Linked DNA regions of Homo sapiens: region 2 is linked to region 1. Evidence: promoter capture Hi-C in human tissues and cell types (Jung and others, 2019). All regions are on one chromosome and are shown on one strand. The core of a region is centred on a gene start or on the middle of the fragment in contact, and the rest is flanking DNA. Distances in the headings are between cores, read along the strand shown. Region 1 holds the start of MYL2 (myosin light chain 2). Region 2 overlaps RAD9B (RAD9 checkpoint clamp component B).

The links. Contacts are between HindIII fragments. The study calls those that stand out against the background at their distance.
Region 2: a contact is called between a fragment that was not itself captured here and the fragment with the promoter of MYL2 in region 1, in 1 of the 25 tissues and cell types used here (spleen).

The regions. Positions count from the first base shown.
Region 1 is chr12:110,919,329-110,922,330 of GRCh38, reverse strand. It overlaps MYL2 (myosin light chain 2), which reads left to right and starts at 1,752. Exons shown (of 7, transcript NM_000432.4): 1 at 1,752-1,804. The coding sequence starts at 1,802. RefSeq lists an enhancer at 944-3,002. The HindIII fragment of the contact is 26,604 bases long and covers 1-3,002 here.
Region 2 is chr12:110,527,658-110,530,433 of GRCh38, reverse strand. The region is part of intron 10 of RAD9B (RAD9 checkpoint clamp component B); the gene reads right to left. Among named protein-coding and RNA genes, the nearest start is that of RAD9B, 27 kb to the right of the region's middle. RefSeq lists an enhancer at 1-113. The HindIII fragment of the contact is 4,060 bases long and covers 1-2,776 here.

The sequences.
Region 1 (3,002 bases), core at 503-3,002:
GATGGGGTTCTGTCATGTTGGCCAGACTGGTCTTGAACTCCTGACCTCAGGTGATCTACCCGCCTCGGCCTCCCAAAGTGCTAGGTGTGAGCCAACATGCCCGTCCTTTTTTTTTTTTTTTTTTTTTTTGAGTCAGAGTCTCACTCTGTCGCCCAGGCTGGAGTGCAATGGCGCTATCTCGGCTCACTGCAACCTCTGCCTCTCGGCCTCAAGCGATTCTCCTGCCTCAGTCTCCTGAGTAGCTGGGACTACAGGCCCGCGCCACAACGCCTGGCTAATTTTTGTATTTTTAGTAGCGACAAGTTTCATCATGTTGGCCAAGGTCGTCTTGAACTCCTGACTCAAGTGATCCACCCGCCTCAGCCTCTCAAAGTGCTGGCATTTCAGGTATAAGCCACTGCACCCAGCAGGAAAGCTGTCTTCAGTAAAAGTATTATATAATGACACCTTGCATTCTGAGAGCAGCTGCTGTTTTCAAGGCTCTTAAAGAGCCTGGACTCTGGAGACAAAGGGGCCTCCAGAGGGGTCCACGCCTAGCTCCATCACTGTGTGACCCTGGGCAGCTCACTTCGCCTCTCTGAGCTTTTGTTTCCGCATCTGTAAAATGGGGGCATGGATGATGAGGTGGTCCCCACCCTCTAGGGTGGCTGGAAAATTATGTGTGGGAGCCATGAGCACATAGTGTCCGGCACGTGCCAGTGCTCAGTCAATGAGATTTGTCATTTCTTCAGTCAACAAATATTTATTTTTGAGCTGCTGCTGTGTGCATCATGAGCTGGGAGCTGGGGAGACAGTCAGTGGTGAGGGAAACTAAAGTGATCCCTGCCCTCTGAGCTGACGCTCCACAGATGCTGAAGAAAATGAGTCAGTGCACTGTGGGCAGTGTTCGGGACTGCCTCACGCTGTGCAGAGAAACAAAGAAGGGAGATCGGAGCGCAGGAGGTGCGTGGCTGTGTTATTTGTTTGTTTTGAGACAGGGTCTTGCTCTGTCACCCAGGCTGGAGTGCAGTGGTGTGATCGTGGCTCACCACAGCCTCAACCTCCCGGGCCCAAGTGATCCTCCTGTCCCAGCCTCCTGAATAGCTGAGACTATAGGCATGCACCACCACGCACAGCTATTTTTTTTTCTTTTGCGTAGAGACAGGCATCTCCCTATGTCACCCAGGCTGGTCGCAAACTCCTAGGCTCAAGCAATCTTCCCGCCTCGGCCTCCCGCCGTGCTGGGATTTCAGGCATGAGCCACAGTGCCAGCCTTCATGGTTATTTTAAAGATGGTGGTCGGGGAGGCTTCACTCAGGAGATGACATATGAGCAAAGATGCAGTGAAGGAGGTGAAGGAAGGAGCCGTGCGATGACTGACAGAAAGACATTCCAGGTAGAGGGCACACAGGTGCAAAGACCCTGAGGCCAGATCCAGGCTGATAAAACAGAGCATTTTAGCAGTCTCCTCTCCCTGCCATTTTTTTTCTCAAAATTGACAAGCACAAGTGTCCCCGGCCCAAGCACCGCAGAGAGCGCGCAGCATCTCTCCCCGTGACCATGACCCAGCTACTGCCTCTTTAACCTTGAATGCCTTTTTGGGGGCTCACGTGTCACCCAGTGGCGAGTGAGCCACCCTTACTTCAGAAGAACGGCATGGGGTGGGGGGGCCTTAGGTGGTGCCCGCCTCACCTATGACTGCCAAAAGCGGTCATGGGGTTATTTTTAAACATGGGGAGGAAGTATTTATTGTTCCTGGGCTGCAGAGAGCTGGGCGGAGTGTGGAATTCTTCTCGGGAGGCAGTGCTGGGTCCTTTCCACCATGGTGAGTACAAGGGCTCCAGGAGGTGATGATGCCGGGTGGGCGAGGAGAGGAAGCCACTACAAGCGAGGGACCACGGCGGAGGGGGAGGAAGGCGGCCCTCAAAGCCTCCAGCCCCTTGTGGAAAAAGCCCCATTGACTGCGCGGGCACAGAGGAACCCCAATCAATGCCCCGATAGGCCACAAATAACAGCAGCTCTCGGGGACTCACAAACACAAAATAAGAGAGTTGGCTTTTTTATGGCTTGTCTACTGACCTCTCGAGGAATCAATAACTCCCAGGACTTGCAAAATGGGATTGAATGCTTTTAAGGATCAAATTGTAATTCTTTTCTCTTGTTCAGGCAGCTGGGAAAAAGAATGTTTTTGTTTTCACCTTTTGAACTTGCAAATTTAAAACCTTTCTTTCTGTGCTGTTGGGTTAGGTGTCCCCCTCCTGAAGTGGGCAGTCCCCAAATCAGGGTCAGCACAGGAGGGAGAGTGGTTAGAGGCAGGAACTCTGGAGTCAGAATGCCCAAGTTCAACTCCCCAAGTTCAACGCCCAAGTTCAACTCCGGCTCTGCCTTCTGTGTGTGTGGCTGTGTGATCTTGGGCAAGTGACCCAACCTCTCTGAGCCTCAGTTGCCTCTCCTGTAAAATGGGGATGATAATAATAGTATCCACTTGACAGAGTGGTTATGAGAATTAAATAATACATATGTAGAGTACCGAATCATTTGCTGTTATTGAAAGTCAGAGAGAAGTGGGGTGGGGAAGAAAGGTCAACTCGCTCTTCTCTGCCCTATTGATGTGGTGCAAGGACGGAGCATTCAGAGAGGAGGTTTTGCTGCCATTTGGAGCAAGGGAAAATTGTGGGGTGTGGGGCGCAGTTGGGTTTTAACACCTTGAAGAACTGTCATTTCATCTTGGCATTCATCATGGCTTAGTGAGCCTGACTTTTTCTTTCCCTCCAATCAATTCTCCTTCTGTGCATTACTGAGCTTTTTGTGAAATGCATCAGAACAAAAGTGGCTGGATCCTGCAGGGGCGATCTGAAGGTGTGGCCTCCATCCCCAGGGACACACCTGTGGCTTCTCCTAGTTGGTGAAGGAGCCACTGCAAGATGCACAAACGCTTATGATCCACTGGTACCAGAGGGCTCTGGAGAAACTTCATGTCATGTCCTTTGCTCCCTCCAGCATCACCGTTTGGAGACCTGAGT
Region 2 (2,776 bases), core at 176-2,675, 390 kb after region 1:
CAGTATTATATCCCTGTCTTTGCTGGTGATGGTTCACAGAACACCCAGAACCTTCATTATTGGTCCAACACGTCCTAAAACCAAACCTTGGCCGCGCATGGTGGCTCACGCCTGTAATCTCAGTACTTTGAGAGGCCAAGGTGGGCGGATCACGAGGTCAGGAGATCGAGACCATCCTGACTAACATGGTGAAACCCCGTCTCTACTAAAAATACAAAAAAAAATTAGCTGGGTGTGGTGGCGGACACCTGTAGTCCTAGCTACTCGGGAGGCTGAGGCAGGAGAATGGCGTGAACCCGGGAGGCGGAGCTTGCAGTGAGCCGAGATCGTGCCACTGCACTACAGCCTGGGGACAGAGCAAGACTCCATCTCAAAAAATTAAACAAAAAAAACAAACCTTTCCCTGCCTTCAAAGGCACATGACAATCTTCAGTTTGGGATCAATGGTCTGCTGCTGACTCCCCTCCTGAGCCATCAAAGCTTCCACCAGAACTGAGAGGCAGAGGTCAACGAAGCCTCCGTAAGCCACTGGATTAATTAATCCATCTTCTTCCCTTCCCCTCCTGCTACGGCAGAAGCCACTCTTCCAAGTTAAAGCCAGTCCTTTCCTCCCTATCTCTGCATCCCAGCACCCTGGGAATGTTAGCATTTTCAAATGCTCAAATGCCTCTCATCTTCACCTTTTTATTTGTTATCAGGTTTTGCCCTATTGCCCAGGTTGCAGTGCAGCTGTGTGATCACGTCTCACCGCAGCCTCAAACTCCTGGGCAATCCTCCCACCTCAGCCTCTGGAGTAGCTGTAACTACAGGTATGCACAACCATGCGCAGCCTTTTTTTTTTTTTCCGTAAAGACCAGGTCTTGCTACGTGGCCCAGGCTGGTCTCAAACTCCTGGCTTCAAGCAATCCTCCTGCCTTCACCTCCCAAAGTGCTAGAATTACAGGCATGAGCCACTGTGCTCAGTCTTCTTATCTTTAAAATACAGAAATAGCCAGGCACGGTGGCCCACGCCTGTAATCCCAGCACTTTAGGAGGCTGAGGCAGGTGGATCACCTGAGGTCAGGAGATCGAGACCAGCCTGGCCAACATAGTGAAACCCCGTCTCTACTAAAAATACAAAAAATTAGCTGGGCATGGTGGCGGGCACCTGTAATCCCAGCTACTAGGGAGGCTGGGGCAGGAGAATCACTTGAACCTGGGAGGCAGAGGTTGCAGTGAGCTGAGATTGAGCCACTGCCAGCCTGGGCAACAAGAGCGAAACTCCATCTCTAAACAAACAAACAAATAGCCTAACCTCATCCCATTTCCCCCTTCAGTTACTGCTTTATCTCTAATTGTAGAGCTGTCTACACCCACTGTCTCCATCTTCTCATTCTCCTACTCTTTACTTAAAAAAAGCTTCTCCAGGCCCGGCACGGTAGCTCACGCCTGTAATCCCAGCACTTTGGGAGGCCAAGGCGGGTGGATCACCTGAGCTCAGGAGTTCGAGACCAGCCTGAGCAAGATGGTGAAACCCTGTCTCTACTAAAATACAAAAAATTAGCTGGGTGTGGTGATGCATGCCTGTAATCCCAGCTACTTGGGAGTCTGAGGCACAAAAATCACTTGAACCCGGGAGGTGGAGGTTGTAGTGAGCCAAGATTGTGCCCCTGCACTCCAGCCTGGGCAACAGAGCAAGACTGTCTCAAACAAACAAAAACAACAAAAAAAGCTTCTCCCTCACTGACCCCCATATCACAGAAACTTATGGTCAACAGAATTTACCACATCCTTAAAGTCAGGACCCATTTTCAGTCCTCCCCACTTGTTATTCACTCTGACATCTTTCTCATGCCGCACTCTCCTGGCTAATCTCAGCTCAGCCAGCTTGCCCTCTTCTAAGCAGCCTCTGAACTTGGGTTACTTAACCTCAGCGCTGCTGCCATTTGAGGCCTTATGAGTCTTTGGTGTAGAGCTGTCCTGCAGGGAGGAAGATGGTGGGCGGCACTGCGGGTCTTTACCCGCTACATGCAATTAGCATTCCCTTAACATATCCAAAACTGAATTCATGATCTTACTAAGCCCTGAATCTACTTCTCCAAACCTAAGACCTCCCTGGATACCTTTTTCCTTAACCCCCATAACCAATCCATCACCAAGTCCTGCTAGTTTTGGCTCCTAAATGAACTATTTCAGCCGCCTCTCTCCACTTCTCATCTAAGTAATCACCATCTCTCAGATGCTACAATTGGGTGACTATTGCCTCACTGAAGCCCGTTTTTCATATAACACTTTCAGCTAAAGTCATCCAGTCAACATTCAGTCTGTCAGCCCTCCCAGGTAAAGCCATTCAAATATTTTAAATACCCAGGTACTTTGGCCGCTTGCACAGCTTCCAGGACTCTCCAGCATGATCTGGCTCTTACCAAGCACTCTAGCCTCCCCTTGTGCCACTGTCTCCCTCTGGCTCTGATCTCCAACCACAGTGGCCATCCCTCAGCTCCTTCAAGCCCCCAGGCTCCCTCCCCTGCTGGGGCCTTTGCACAGGCCGCCCTCCCTGAGCTCTACTCCCACCCCCATGCCCTCATCCTTTCCAGCTCAGCTCAAACACCAGTTTCAAGGGGAAGACGTTCTGACCTGGATTAAGGCAGTACATACCATTAAATCTTCTCCAAGCACCCTGAACTTCTCCTTTATTGAACTAAACACAGCCTTTCAAAAATTATATATTTAGTCATGTTATACCTATACCCTAGTCCCGATACGTGATACCCGCTCTAGTCTCTAAACAAGTTGA